Linked DNA regions of Homo sapiens: region 2 is linked to region 1. Evidence: promoter capture Hi-C in human tissues and cell types (Jung and others, 2019). All regions are on one chromosome and are shown on one strand. The core of a region is centred on a gene start or on the middle of the fragment in contact, and the rest is flanking DNA. Distances in the headings are between cores, read along the strand shown. Region 1 holds the start of OCSTAMP (osteoclast stimulatory transmembrane protein). Region 2 overlaps ZMYND8 (zinc finger MYND-type containing 8).

Region 1 (7,420 bases), core at 3,359-5,858:
ATCTGATGGGGAGACCAGGAGGCTGGAGAGCCAAGAAAGTGCTGCAGTTGGAACCTGAAGGCTATCTGCTGCAGAGCGTCCTCTTGCTCAGGAAGGGTCAGTCTGTTGCAATATTCAGGCCTCCCACTGATGGATGAGACCCATTCACATTCTGAAGGGTGATCCACCCTACTCAAAACCCACTTATTCAAATGTTAATCTCATCTCAAAACATACTCACGGAAACATCAAGAGTGATGCATAGCTAAATCCCTGGGCACCATGGCTCAGCCAAGTTGACACATGAAATTTTATGTGTTGCACCAACACCAGCCAGAATGCAAGGAGGGCTTTGATGCAGCCTGTCCAGGTCCACCTCCCGGGTGCAGGGCAGGGAGGAGGAGCATGGGGAGGGGTCTGGAGAAACAAGCTTTGAGAAGAGTAAGGCACAAAGGGTTGACACATCAGAGCTTGCAATCTGGTGCCAGCCCTCAGCCAGGTTTTGTTTGTCCTCTCCCCAATGAGTTTGGTTTTTTAAGTTTAGTTTTTTTGAGACAGGGTCTCGCTTTGTGGCCCAGGCTGGAGTGCACTGGCCTGGTGTGATCTCAGCTCACTGCAACCTCCATGTCCCAGGCTCAGGTGATCCTCCCACCTCAGCCTCTGGAGTAGCTGGAAGTGCACAACATCACTATCATGCCCACCTAATTTTTCTATTTTTAGTAGAGTCGGGGTTTTTCCATTTGCCCAGGCTGATCTTAGACTCCTGAGCCTCAAGTGATCCACCTGCCTCGGCCTCCCAAAGTGCTGATATTACAAGCGTGAGCCACTGTGCCAGACCCCTGATGAATTTTAAATTATTATTTGCTAGTCATTAAAATTCAGGAGATTTCACATAAAAATCTGGATTTCTGCTTCTCTTGGAAAGGAAAATACCAGATCTAGCAATATGAGACCCTCTTTGGCATCTGGCAACAATTGTTTGGAGCTGAGTAGTATGTGGAGGAAATCATAAGTTGGAACGTAAACATTAATTAGCCTCAGTCCCCACCACTCTTTAATGACTTACACTGGCTCTCCTCTGTCAACTCTGTCACTTTCCTGGCTTGTGAAAGCATTTGAATCTATGACCCTTGAATTGCATGATCTGGGAGGTCCATTTCAGCATTAGCGGTCACGGGTTCTAATGGCCTAGAGCAGCACTACCCACTGACCTTTCTGTAATGATGGAAATGGTCTATAGCTGCCCTGTGTGACACAGTAGCCACTTGCTATGTGTGGCTACTGAACATTTGTAATGTGGCTAGTTCAAATTGAGATTTGTTATAAGTAGAAAATTGTAATATGAGAAAATAAATGTAAAACATCCTGTCAATTTTTTATATTATTTACATGTTAAAAGGATATTTGTGATATGTTACATTGACTAAAATATTTTATTAAAATTGATTTCTGTTTTTAAAAATTCGATTTTTTAAATTTAAAAAATGTTATATATCAACTTGACTGGGCCATAGTGCCCAGATATTTGGTCAAGCATTATTCTGGATATTTCTGTGAGGGTGTTTTTAGATGAGACTAACATTTGAATCAGTGGACTTTGAGTAGGGTTACCAGAAAAGTTTAAATTATGCATACGGTTCGAGTTGGTGGCTCACATACTGTTGCTATTGGATAGCACCAGCAATATAGGAAGATTTTGGCTGCTTCTCTGTATTCTCAAACTATCTGGACAGTGGCAACGTTGAAGAAGGCTAAAGAATTCAGTGACTCTAATTATTCTGTGCAGCTGGGCACAGTAGCTCACGCCTGTAATCCCAGCGCTTTGGGAGGCTGAGGTGGGCAGATTACTTGAGCCTAGGAGTTTGAGACCATCCTGGGCAACAAGGCAAAAGTCCATCTCTACTGAAAATAATACTCTATGGGTCTCTGATTCTGATCCCAGACCAGGCTCTCCAGGAAGATCTGAAGGCTTACCTCTTCCTCTTCCTCTTCTGTCTTATGGCTCTGAATCCTCCACCCACAAATTCCCCTCAACAAAGCTGATTCTATTTTTGATGATTCAGAAGCCCCTTCCGGATGTTGTGGGCCTTGAGGTCAGGCCAGCCTTATATAGACAGAGGTAACTGCCTACATGTACCGAGAAAAGCCAAAAATATATTTTGCCTGTTCACTCCCTATGCCCCCATGCTCCCAAATCTTACATATCCACCAGAGGCCTTCCGGAAACAAACTGCCTGGTCCTTATCCAACCAGCTCCCTAGTGCCTGTGCAGAAACTGGGCAAATGCTGGTGGCTGGCTTCTAGGACTCTTTCTGTCTGACCAGCACAATGCCCTGAAGTTTGCTATGTGATGGGATCCAGGCCAGGGTGGCCTGGTGAGCATCAGAAGTCTCAACAATCAGATGTGAGCAGACAGGGGCTCACTTGGCAGAACTGTCATCCCAGGTAGGAGGAAACAGGGCATGAGCATTTACCTATTGTTTACTGAACACTCTATATGCATTATCTCATTGAATCCTCAAACAGTCCTTAAAGTAGGTACTGTATTACCCTCATTATAGCAGAGGATGCACAACTTCAGAGAGGGACAGTGTCTTGCCCAAGGTCACACAGCACAGTAAGTGGTAAAGCTGGCATTTGAGTTCAGGTCTGCTGCCTCCAGTCCAGGGCCCCTGCAGTTTGGGGGGAATAGCTAGACATCTCCTTGCAGCCAGACAGCTAACAGCAGGCCTGACTAAGGCCTCCTGCGGAAGGTGAAAATTGATGCTCCTCATGCTGGCTTTGGCCCATAGACCTGTTAAGATTGGTCTGCATGGTAGTCTTTCATTTAAAAAAAAAAAAGCTGACATTTACATTAAAAAGAGAATGACTGGCGTCTTTAGAAAAGCTGGAAAATCTGGTCATGGTGGGCCTCGTTTTCAAGGGGCTTTGACCCTCAACTGGAGATGAATAACAGCTGACCAGACAGGAGGGAGTGGGGGGGGCTACACTTTGTAGCTCACTGCTATTTGCATTCATCCTGCTTTGTTCATGAGCTAAGCAGCGTGGCCCCTGTGGGTACACAAGTTTGCTGCTGCTAGTCTGCCTCATGTACTTAGTTCTTTGCAGACCTGGTAGCTGGCCTAACATCCTGCAGGGGTGCACTGTCTGGGAAGTGTGTTAGGCCCTCTGAGGGTTCTGGCCACAGGTATTCCATTCAATCGCTGTGTAACTATAAGAACGTCACTTCCCCTATCCAGGCCGCAGGACATTCCCCTTCAGGCCTGAGAGTGACCCAGGCAACATGTCCTTATAAGGGAAAGTGGCTGTGCCCCTACTGGTCCATCCCACAGAGGGGGAGCCTGGGGGGCTCAGGGGAGGCCTGCTGGGAGTGATGGGGTACAGAGATGCTGGAGAGGTGTCTGCATTCCAGGTAGGAACTGGCTTTCAGGACAGCCTGAAAGCAGACCTGCAGGGCACTAACTGCAGAGGGTGTGCGTGGGGAATTTACATTATTGAGTACCTACTATTTGCAGTACCAGCTGTACTATGAAGTAATCACGAGGTCTGTGAATTATCCCCTCCACAGCAGCAGAGCCCAGTGGCTAACTGGTATACCCTGAAGCCAGCCCGCTGGTTAGAAATCACGGCAGTACCATTAATAGCTGAGTGGCGTGGTTGGCGACGTAGCTCTCTGAGTCTCAGTTTTCTGAGCTGAAGAATGAAAATAACATCTTTACCATAAAGGGATGTTCAAAGTAAGTGTTCAGTGAATTTGAAGAGAAATTGTTTAGAAGAATGCCTGATACATAGTAAGTGCTCAATAAATGTTAACTGTTATTTTCATTAACTATTTTTTTTTGAGACGGAGTCTCGCTCTGTGCCCAGGCTGGAGTGCAGTGACGTGATCTCAGCTCACTGCAACCTTGTCTCCTAGGTTCAAGTGATTCTCCTGCCTCAGCCTCCCGAGTATCTGGAACTACAGGTATGCACCACCACAAACCAGATAATTTTTGTATTTTTAGTAGAGACAGGGTTTCACCATGTTGGTCAGGCTGATCTCAAACTCCTGACCTCAGGTGATCCACCCCCCTCAGCCTCCCAGAGTGCTGGGATTACAGATGTGAGCCACTGTGCCCAGCCTCATTAAACTTTTTTTAAGGGGAGAAAACCAGCAGAGAGATATGAGGTCACCTGCCCAAGGTCTCATAGCTAGGGAGGGACAGAGCTGAGATTTGAAGCGAGGTACAAGTCAGGCTAAAGACAGGAAGGGGGCTGGGGAAGGAGACCAGAGCCACTGCTCCCAGTACTTGGCAGGGGTCTGATTATCACCTGTGAGTCCCAAGAGCAGGGATCAGGCTCCCCTTGGGGCACACAACTATGGAGTGGGAGGGAAAGGGAAGCTGTATGGTTTCTCTGTGCCTCAGTTTCCTTCTCTGTAAAATGGGGCTAATTCTACCTTCCTGCTACCAAGATTAGAGACATCGCTTGGAAAAGGCTGTCTTTTCCTCTTCCCACACCTTCCACCCGCTCTTGCTTGTGGGCAGAGGATGAGGCAGCTTGCCCAACCCTCTGGGAGGTGGGCCCCGAAAAGGGCGGGACAAGGCAGCCAGGAGAGCTTCATTAAAGAGTGGAAAAGCAGAAGTGGCAGGGATTCCCAAGTCCCAGCGATTCCCCCACTTCCTCTCCACCTGCCACAGCTGCCAGCGACCGCCCGCCTGAAACCACTGCCATTTGGACAGCATGCCAGGCCACCCAGGAGCAGCTGAGCAACTTGTCAAGACCGGGTAGGTCTGGGGACTTTGGACACTGAGGGCTACAGGTGAGAAAACAGTCAGCCATTGGGGGTGATGGATATGAACCCAAATCTTCAGCTCTGCCATTCCTTGGCTATGTGACCTTAGGCAAATCCTCAGTTCTCTGTGAGCCTCAGTTCCCCATCTGTGAAATGGAAGTAATAATGACATCTACAAGACTGTTGCCAGAATTGAATGAGAAAACACATGCTTAGTACTTGGCACCTGCTTGGCTCAGAGGAAGCACTCACTAAACAGCAGCTAGTTTCCTTGCCATTTTCAATACCCCGTGCAGGAATTGTCATCCAATATGACTTAGGACTGGCTTTCAATCCTTAAAATTGTTTTTATTATTAGCTATTATTCCAAAAGCTACTGTGTTCCAAATATTAATTATATAGTAGAAGGGGGTGTTTAGTCCCAAATTCAAATGCCTTCGGGAGCTGGGAAGGGGTTGCACCTGTGGAAGGCCACCTGGGTGTGCAGACGGACCCGTTCATTGATCAGCAGGATGCAGTCTGCAGGGCTGCTCCCCTGTCAAAGGTGGGTAGTGGATACTCAGCTCCAGCTACCTGTTGCAAAGGTGGGAGCTCTAACCCAGATCTTCTTATCTCTCAAGAAAAGCTGGAAACCCAGATTTTAATGTGAAACTTCCTTATTTCCAAATGGGGGCAGCTTACACACACACACACACACACAGAGTGGGCCACAATAAGGCACATTTGCATATGATTCAGCCTTTAGGGCTTCAAGGTTGTGACCTTCACTCCAGCCCCACAGGCCTCACTGCATCTCAGCTTCCCACTGTTCTGGTTCTCCCAACTCCCTATTTCCCGATGGTCAGAGCACAGGACCTTTGCACACGCTGTTCCTTCTGTCAGGGATGTCCAACTCCCTTCTTCACCCACAAACTGACACTTGTCCTTCCACCCCCAGCTGGAATGTCACCTCTTCCAGGGAGCCTTCCTGACTCCCAGGTAAAACTGGGTCACTCTCCATCTATCCCACCCCAGTCCAGGCCCAGGCATACTATGCTCAGAATTCTTTGTTAATGAACTTAAACTCTAATGGTCTATTTAAGTCTCCTCAATTAGACTGTGAACTCCTTTAGTGGGACCAGGACTTAATTCATCTTTGTGTCCACAGGGGTCAGCACAGAGCCTGGGCACAGAGGAGACTCGAGTGAAACATTTACATCGTTGACATAAGTATCATCAGAGTAACAAGTGGTGCAGTTTTATAGGATCCCTCTTCTGTGCCAGACCCTGTGTAAACTTCTTTACATGGATTATTTCATTTTATTGTCCCAGAAGCCCTGTGACAAAGGTTTCTGTATTAGTCAGGACTCATTGAGTTGCAAGTGACAGATTGATCTTACACTGCCTGTAGAAAAACAGACATCTCCTAGTGTGTGGTCCGGCATAGATTTCGGCTTCAGGCATTTCTGGATCCAGGTCCTCCAACAAGGCCACTGGGACTCTCTGTCTGTTTCCTAACACTGTTTTCCTTGTGTTGCCTTCATCCCAGGCCGACTCATACTACATGGTGGTCCCCAAGGCTTGAGGCATCTTCCTACCAGCTTAGCTCTCAAGGCAACAAAGGGCAGTTTTTTTGTCGTTGCAGCAAAATCCTGAGGAAAGCTCTATTGGTCCATCTCCGGTCAGGTGCAATCCCTGCACCAGTCACGGTGGCCAGGGGATCAGAGGTACTTGGATCAACTAGACCCAGTCACATGCTTATCCTTCAAGCTGTTGATGGTGGAGCAAGTCAGCAGCTTTGCCTGTAACCAACACAGTGACAGCCTCCCCACCACCCTCCCTGCCCTTTATAACCATATTCCCGTATAACCTTTCTGCCTGCTCTCACTTAAGATAATGTATGATCTCCAACCTCAAGTGGGCCTCAGTGTTGCCCAGCACATATGTTATTGCCCCAGTTCGTTTGTTCTCCCACTTTCCTGGGCAACCATTTTGTACTTTCTTCTTCCTCTTCAAGCATCCATCACCTCCGCCAGCATCTTACCTTCTCTGCTGACCTTGCTTCCTGCCAACCTGAGCAAACAGAAGCAATCGGTCATGCTACTCTTAATGAATAGTTTTGGAGCACTCACAACATGGCAGACACTATTGTAGGCACTTGGGACATATCAGTGACCAAAACGGACAAAGTCCCTGCTCCGGTGGAGTTGACTCTAGTGGTAGGTAATAGCTGATGTGATACTTACCATGTGCCAGAAACAAAGTGACCCCAGGAGGTGCATACTTTTATTGCACCATTTTACAGATGAGACAGCTGAGACACAGAAAGGTTGTGATATGTACCCAAGTTCACATAGCTGGCAAGTGGTGGAGCAGAAATTTGAGCCCAGGCAGTCCAGAGGTCATGCCCTTAACATTACTCTGCTCTGCGTATATCAGAGGATACTTTTCACAGGTGCATACACGCTGCCTGTTCATTCGCCATCATCTGTACCTATTTCCTCTGCTTTCCCACCTGCTATTAAGGATGAACGACCCCTGCTCTATTCTAAGACCAGCCCCACCTTGCATGTTCTCAGTCTCACTCTCTGCCTCCACCCCTACAGGTGTCACTCCAGGGAGTCTCCCCTTTGTCAATGTCTCCCCTCTCGATGAGATCTCCCACCTGCAAACATGCTATAGATTTCC
Region 2 (7,529 bases), core at 448-2,947, 690 kb before region 1:
CTGGAGTACAATGGTACAATCTCGGCTGACTGCAACCTCCGCCTCCCGGGTTCAAGTGATTCTCCTCCCTCAGCCTCCCAAGTAACTGGGATTACAGGCACCTGCCACCACGCCTGGCTAATTTTTGTATTTTTAGTAGAAACAGGGTTTCACCATGTTGGCCAGGCTGGTCTCAAACTCCTGACCTCAGGTGAGCCACCCAGCTCGGCCTCCTAAAGTGCTGGGATTACAGGCATGAGCTACTGCGTCTGGCCTTACTGGCTTTTAATCTTATTTGCATTTAACTTAGCTCAGAGTTTCACAACCTTGCACTTCTGACAGTTTGCCCTGGCTAATTCTTAGTCCTGTGTATTGGAGGATGTTTTCCAGCATCCCTGGCCTCTACCAGCCAGATGGCAACCTTACTTGCTCAGTTGTGGCAGTCACAAATGTGGCAATCAAATATTGCCAAATATCCCCTGAGTCTCAGAGGCTACGGTTATATTCTGAACCAGCAGTGACTACCCCACAGCCTAGTGCAGCCTGGGCATGTTAACAAGCCCAACAAAAGGGGTGTGGGAATGATTGGAAGGATGTCCTTCCCACTGACAAAGTATTCAGCACATTTTTGAGTTGGCTTGGCAATTAGGTTAGAGGATTCAACATGCTCAATAAAGATACTGAAGAATTAACTAAGGGCCCAGAAGAAACATTGCCCCAGGACAAATTACAGGTTGTAGCCATAAAACCTTATGTATGTGGCGAGTGACTTAAGGGATAGCCAGGTTTAAATCTTGACTGTGCCTAACTTCTATCAGGAGCTAACTTGTCAATGAAACCCTTGAATAAGATGTAACTCCATGTCCTTTGGGGTTTCCATTGTCTGGTGGCTTAAAGCAAGTCAGGGATGGGCCTTGAGAATCTTTCTGCTGTGGTTATGGTCAACCTGGGCTGCTCTGGAACCTCAGCTGTCAGAGTGAGAGAGGATTCCTGCAGTTCAGCTAAAGAGAATGTCTGTGAGAGGTACAGTGGAGGAAGAGAGAGATACAGTTACATAAGGGAGGGAGGATAGGCCATCAAACCATCCCGACCCATCTGTTAGATTTATAGATGGCCTCTGAAAAATATGAGTATGTTATGGATTGGGTTTTGAGAGACTGTCTCTGTTGTTGCAGAGAACAATAGGAGTAGCATTTATTTCATGAGGATCGTAGGAATATTTGGGTGCAGATGGCAGTGCTCCTATGAGTGACATATTTATACTGTTCTTTCTTTCTGGAACAGATCTTTTGATTGATTGGTTTTGTGCCCCTACCTCTTCCAGAAAGAATTTGCAACAGATTGACAAGGATACATAACCATATGAAACAAGATGAAAATAAAGACATCCATGTAAAAGGAAAATGAAGGTAGAATAGCAAGTGGTCTGGGGAAAGGTTTTATACAGAAATCTGTACTATTTCAATCTTCAGAGTTAGGGAAGTTGGCTCTGAAAGCAGAATGGGAAACACAGTACCTTAGAAGATCTCATACTTTCCAAAAAAACAAAAAACCATTCTAGTTGATTAAAAGAAGTAGAACTTTTCCTCACATTGATGTCTGAAGGGAATTTCTCCAGGAAGCTTTAGTAGATGGTGGACAATTAAGCTGAAGATGATTCTAAAACACAGTTCAGTTAGAGCAGCTTCCTAAGGCTTGGGGCAAAACCAATTGATCTTAAATTCAGAGCTGATGGTGGTTTGGGTCTTGAAAAATTCTCGTGTCAGACTCCGCTAGAGAGCATCTTTTCAATGATGTGTTTTCACTTAAGAGTTTAGTAAGTGAAGGGCATTTTGGATTGCGCTGTTGTGACCTCCAGCTTACCTTCCACTAGGGATGCAGCTTATGGGTAGAATATGAATCTTCAGATGGCAAAACAGCTTTTATAGCTAATAACCTCAGAACAGAAGCAAAGAGAGCACACTTAGACTCTTCGCTGTGCTTTCACTGGCACATCAGTAATTTCCATCCTTCTACAAAGGGGATGCTAATTTTTCTCTTAAAAAGTCCTTGCTTTATAAATGAAAAACAGTGACCAGTGACAAATTCAGGAATTAAGTAGGTTAATTTGATAGGGCAGCTTCTCAGGTGCTGACCCTTTAAAAAAAAATTCACCCTTTTTTTCCCGCTACAGGTGATTGATTATGTACTCCAGATTTCTGGGACAAATGAAATTTCCTGTAGCCTCATTTTGTCTCCATAAACCATCAGGATTCCTGGAAATTTAAATATTTTGATATCTAAATAACTTCAAACAATTTTGAGCCTGGAATCTTATCGGATTGTATACTCTAGTTCTTTATTTGGCAGAGAGCCAGCTGTGATCACTGCAGAGCAGTAACCCCTCCGCCCTGCTGGCTGTTTGCTTTTGCAAATCAGGAGAGAGAAAACGACCATTTTGCGGTTGCCCTTACGGTGGGGAGACAGGCTAGCTCATCAACAATAACAGTATATTTTTTGGTAATGTGGCAGGAAAGGAAGGCATTGAAGGCACTTACGTGGGTTAGAAGCTCTGCTAAGGCACTGCCCCCTGCCCTCCTCTTAGAAGGGCCCAGTTCAACACCTCATCTCCACCTGGAAGAGGCGGGGACTGTGCCCCATATCTGGCAGGTGGCCCTGGAAGCATCGGAGTTCTTCACTGCAGGAAGCTCTCCTTCCAGACCCACCCCAGGCTCTTGCTGACCAGCTTGGCTGGATTCTCCTCTCTGGGGAAGTACAAGGGCCAGCAACATCTCGATAACCATCGAGAACGCCCTCTGAAGTCGGGATAGTCAGCTTGTCTCTTTCCCTCCTTGGCTTCTTAAAACCCACAGCTTACTGAATGAAAATCCTTGCTGGAGTAATCAGGCTCATGTCTTTTTCTGGGTAATACTGATCTTAAAAAGACAGACATAGGCCGGGCGCAGCGGCTCACGCCTGTAATCCCAGCACTTTGGGAGGCCGAGGCGGGTGGATCACAAGGTCAGGAGATTGAGACCATCCTGGCTAACACAGTGAAACCCCGCCTCTACTGAGAATACAAAAAATGAGCTGGGCATGGTGGCGGGCACCTGTAGTCCCAGCTACTCGGGAGGCTAAGGCAGGAGAATGGTGTGAACCCAGGAGGCGGAGCTTGCAGTGAGCCGAGATCGCGCCACTGCACTCCAGCCTGGGTGACAGAGCAAGACTCCATCTCAAAAAAAAAAAAAAAAGAAAAGAAAAAGAGGCAGACATAATCCTTATTTAAAGGAGTTTGATGTCAGGGAGCATAGTCCAAGATCGGGGTGCTGGCTTGTACCTGGGTGTGGTGTGTGTTCCCCAGATATCCTCTCTGGGGCATAGGCTCACCTTACCGGGGGCTGAGGCCTGTGCATCCATAACTGAGCCACCTTTACAAATGAGCTCCCGTGTGGTCATCGCCTCTACGTGCTGCTCAGTGCTTCTGGCTCTAACCTCCCTTCCAGCCCCTCCTCCCTGCCTGCCCTCACTTACTCAAATGCTCTGTATTCCTAGACATATCTTGGCTGATGCTGTTCCCTCCAGATTCTCACTTTCCGCCTGTTGAAATCCTACCCTTTATTCCCCACCAGCCCAGCTCCTCCAAGATGACATACTCCATATGGCAGCGTTTTTCAAACTTGAGTCATTCACATTCATTGTCTTTCCCGTTCTCAAGTCCTGCTTGTATAATTTTTGACTTTTTTTATTTAAAGAATCTTTTTTTTTTTTTTTTTTTTGAGACGGAGTCTCGCCCTGTCACCCAGGCTGGAGTGCAATGGGGCGATTTCGGCTCACTGCAACCTCTGCCTCATGGGTTCAAGCGATTCTCCTGCCTCAGCCTCCCAAGTAGCTGGGATTATAGGCACACACCACCATGCCCGGCTAATTTTTTGTATCTTTAGTAGAGATGGGGTTTCACCATGTTGGCCAGACTGGTTTCGAACTCCTGACTTCGTGATCTGCCCGCCTCGGCCTCCCAAAGTGCTGGGATTACAGGCGTGAGCCACTGCACCCGGCCAAGAATCTCATTCTTTAAAAATAAAATTAAGCTCATTTAAAGCGGGACACAGTAGCACGTCCCGTGTAGTCCCAGCTATTCGGGAGGCTGAAGTGGCTTGCTTGAGCCCAGCCGGGGTGATATAGCAAAACTCTATCTCTTTAAAACATAAAATAAAATAGGCCGGGCACGTTGGCTCACGCCTGTAATTCCAGCACTTTAGGAGGCCAAGGCGGATGGATCATGAGGTCAGGAGTTCAAGACCAGCCTGGGCAAGATGGCGAAACCCCGTCTCTGCTGAAAATAAAAAAAATTAGCTGGGTGCGGTGGCAGGCGCCTGTAATCCCACGTAGTCGGGAGGCTGAGGCAGGAGAATCGCTTGAACTCAGAGGGCGGAGGTTGCAGTGAGCCAAGTTTGTGCCACTGCACTCCACCCTGGGTGACAGAGTGAGAATCCATCTCAATAAATAAATAAAATAAACTCATTTTATTTACTTTTCATTTATTATTATTATTATTTTGAGACGGAGTCTCACCCTGTCACCCAGGCTGGAGTGCAATGGCATGGTCTCGGCTCCCTGCAACCTCCACGTCCCGGGTTCAAGCGATTCTTCTGCCTCAGCCTCTTGAGTAGCTGGGACTACAGGCGCCTGCCACCGCACCCGGCTATTTTTGTATTTTCGGTAGAGACGGGGTTTCACTATGTTGGCCAGGCTGCTCTTGAACTCCTGACCACAAGTGATCCGCCCACCTCAGCCTCCTAAAGTGTTGGGATTACAGGCGTGAGCCACTGCGCCCGGCCTATTAGTAATATTTTTTGAGACGGAGTCTCACTCACTCTTTCTCACAGACCGGAGTGCAGTGGCGCGATCTCGGCTCACTGCAACTTCCGCCTCCTGGGTTCAAGGAATTCTCCTGCCTCAGTTTCCCACCACGTCTGGCTAATTTTTTTGTATTTTTAATAGAGACGGGGTTTCCCCATGTTGGTCAGGCTGGTCTCAAAATCCTGACCTCAAGTGATCCGCCTGCCTCAGCCTCCCGAAGTGCTGGGATTACAGGCGTGAGCCACCGTGCTTGGCCTCATTTTTTTAGTAAAAAAATTTCCCCTGAAAAAAGCATCTGCAAGTATAAACTCATTTTAGACTTGAACACCACCCAATAAGAACAGTAGCACACAGTATACATAAAAGCTGGTGATAGGAATAAATCCAATCAAAACCAAAGCAATGCTACTCAATCCTAGATCAGTACCATTGCGTTGGGGGAAGGTTCTGGCCTTGGGGCAGAATTTGTTTTCCTGGTATTGTCCTGGCTATCAGTACCGCCTTCAAACTTTGTCCTGGAGGGAATCAGAAGAGATGAAAAGAATACTTTTCTTTCTGGGTGACTGAGTGTTACTGCTTTGGCCATTGGGAGGCCATCTGGCTCTTTGGAGGTATTGCTTTCTACGTTCCCTAGCCAAAGAATTGCTCTTCCTGTCTGGATTGACTTCCGCTGGGCCCTTCTCAAGGTGCCGACTAGATTTTAACTTTGCGAAAAGGGCGTGAACATTGAATCTGTTCGCCCACCGCATTGTCCACTAGGTGTAGGGGAGCTTGAGCGCAGGAGCCGGGTCTTGTTTGCCTCATTCTCCCCTAGAGGTCTTGACTTGTATCTCAGATGTGGGCCGGCGCTCAGTAAAGGAGGCCGCTGCTCGCGGAGATGGAAGACGCCGCAGAAGTGGCCTCAGCGTTAGGTGAGAATGTACTCCTCCAGCGCGGTGTGCTTGGCACGTCGAATTGGTTCGGCATTCCTGGCTTTCATAGGTTTTACCCAGAACTTGGTGGCGTCAAGACCGTGCAGGTGAACCTGAGTGAAATCCGGTTTTTGTTTGTTTTTTCTTCATGCATTGGCTAGTTGTAGGTAAAACTCCACCATCCACGACGGTGGGCAGCCATTCTCCCCCGGAAACACCGGTGCTCACCCGCTCTTCCGCCCAAACTTCCGCGGCTGGCGCCACAGCCACCACCAGCACGTCCTCCACGGTCACCGTCACGGCCCCGGCCCCCGCCGCCACAGGAAGCCCAGTGAAAAAGCAGAGGCCGCTTTTACCGAAGGAGACTGCCCCGGCCGTGCAGCGGGTCGTGTGGAACTCATCAAGTAAGTTTCAAACGTCCTCCCAAAAGTGGCACATGCAGAAGATGCAGCGTCAGCAGCAGCAGCAGCAGCAGCAAAACCAGCAGCAGCAGCCTCAGTCTTCCCAGGGGACGAGATATCAGACCAGACAGGCTGTGAAAGGTACCGAGCCTCCCCTTCTGTTCTCCGTGGCGCCCGCTCCCATTTTGCCACATCGACAGGAGAAAGTCATTGCTCTTTTATTTTTTTTTTTTAGTTCTCGTTTGTTTCCGGGCCATTGTATCTTGAAGGCCTTGCACATTCCATTTGGCATTATTTTTAAAAATTGTTTTGCTACTTGCTTTTTTACTTTCAAAAAGTTTTTTTTGTTCATTTTATAAATGATACATGCATATATTCTCCTTAAAAAGGGGGCAGAAAGTTTTACATAAAAGTCTGTTATCCCGTTTACCTTCCATTTCATTCTCTTCCCTTCCACAGTGGCCAGTATCAACCGTTGTAAAAGCTTTTCTATGCATGTATGCATGTATATGTATATATACATATCTGTATGTATATATGTGCGCATCATGTATATGATGCCATAAAATTAGTCCTTTTTCCCCCCTTTTTTTCTTTTTTAAAACATAAAAATGGTACCATACTTGCTTTTTTCCCCCACCCATCAGCATGTTTTGGAGGTCCATCCACATCAGCACATACAGCCCTGCCTTGTTCTTTTGGACTGCTGCATAGTATTTCATAGTTTATTTAAAGCATTCCTCTACTAATGGGCATTTAGGTTGCTTTCAGTTTTTTTTCTACTGTGAGCAGTGCTGCAATGAATATCTTTGTATAAATTTCCTTGTGCACATGAGGGAACCTCTTGGAGTTATTTTGGAAAAAGTACAGTGCGAGAAGTTGATAGCGAAGGTTACCTTAGTAACTGGAGATTCGTCACACACACAAGATGAGCCAGCCTCAAGAACCACTTGCTGAAGTTGCAGAATCAGAACTCCCACCAGTCCTGCAGGAGGCTCCATCTGGAGCTGAAATTAGGCCAAACACAGTGCTGATCTGACTGGTTGGTACCAGTTTGCCTGGCTTTTGTGAGCATTGATGTAGATCTTTCTACCAGGAAACCTGCATCTAGATCCTCAAAGGCTGGGTTCTTCAACTGAAACTCATAGTGAATGCGCCCCTGTGAGGGGGGCTCATGAGCAGCAGAATGTGAGGTTGAAAGGTGGCCAGGTCTTGAATTGGCCCCCAGTGAAACCCTTCACAGATGGCGAGGGAGTGGGTCCTGAAGAATTGGCCAGGCAAAATTGAGAGTACAGTTGGATTAATCTTGCTATTTAAAAAGTTGGTGGGGCAAAGCCGAGTCTAGGATATTTGAGATTGGGATTGCGGCTTCCTGTCTTCTGTCTTCATATCTCATAAG

The links. The method cuts DNA at HindIII sites, captures the fragments that hold promoters and counts their contacts. A contact is called where the count stands out against the background at its distance.
Region 2: a contact is called between a fragment that was not itself captured here and the fragment with the promoter of OCSTAMP in region 1, in 1 of the 25 tissues and cell types used here (dorsolateral prefrontal cortex).

The regions. Positions count from the first base shown.
Region 1 is chr20:46,547,842-46,555,261 of GRCh38, reverse strand. It overlaps OCSTAMP (osteoclast stimulatory transmembrane protein), which reads left to right and starts at 4,608. Exons shown (of 3, transcript NM_080721.3): 1 at 4,608-4,745. The coding sequence starts at 4,702. RefSeq lists an enhancer at 1,949-2,148. The HindIII fragment of the contact is 9,290 bases long and covers 76-7,420 here.
Region 2 is chr20:47,237,500-47,245,028 of GRCh38, reverse strand. ZMYND8 (zinc finger MYND-type containing 8) reads left to right here. Exons shown (of 23, transcript NM_001281775.3): 15 at 5,891-6,271. Among named protein-coding and RNA genes, the nearest start is that of MIR3616, 74 kb to the right of the region's middle. The HindIII fragment of the contact is 4,822 bases long and covers 1-4,108 here.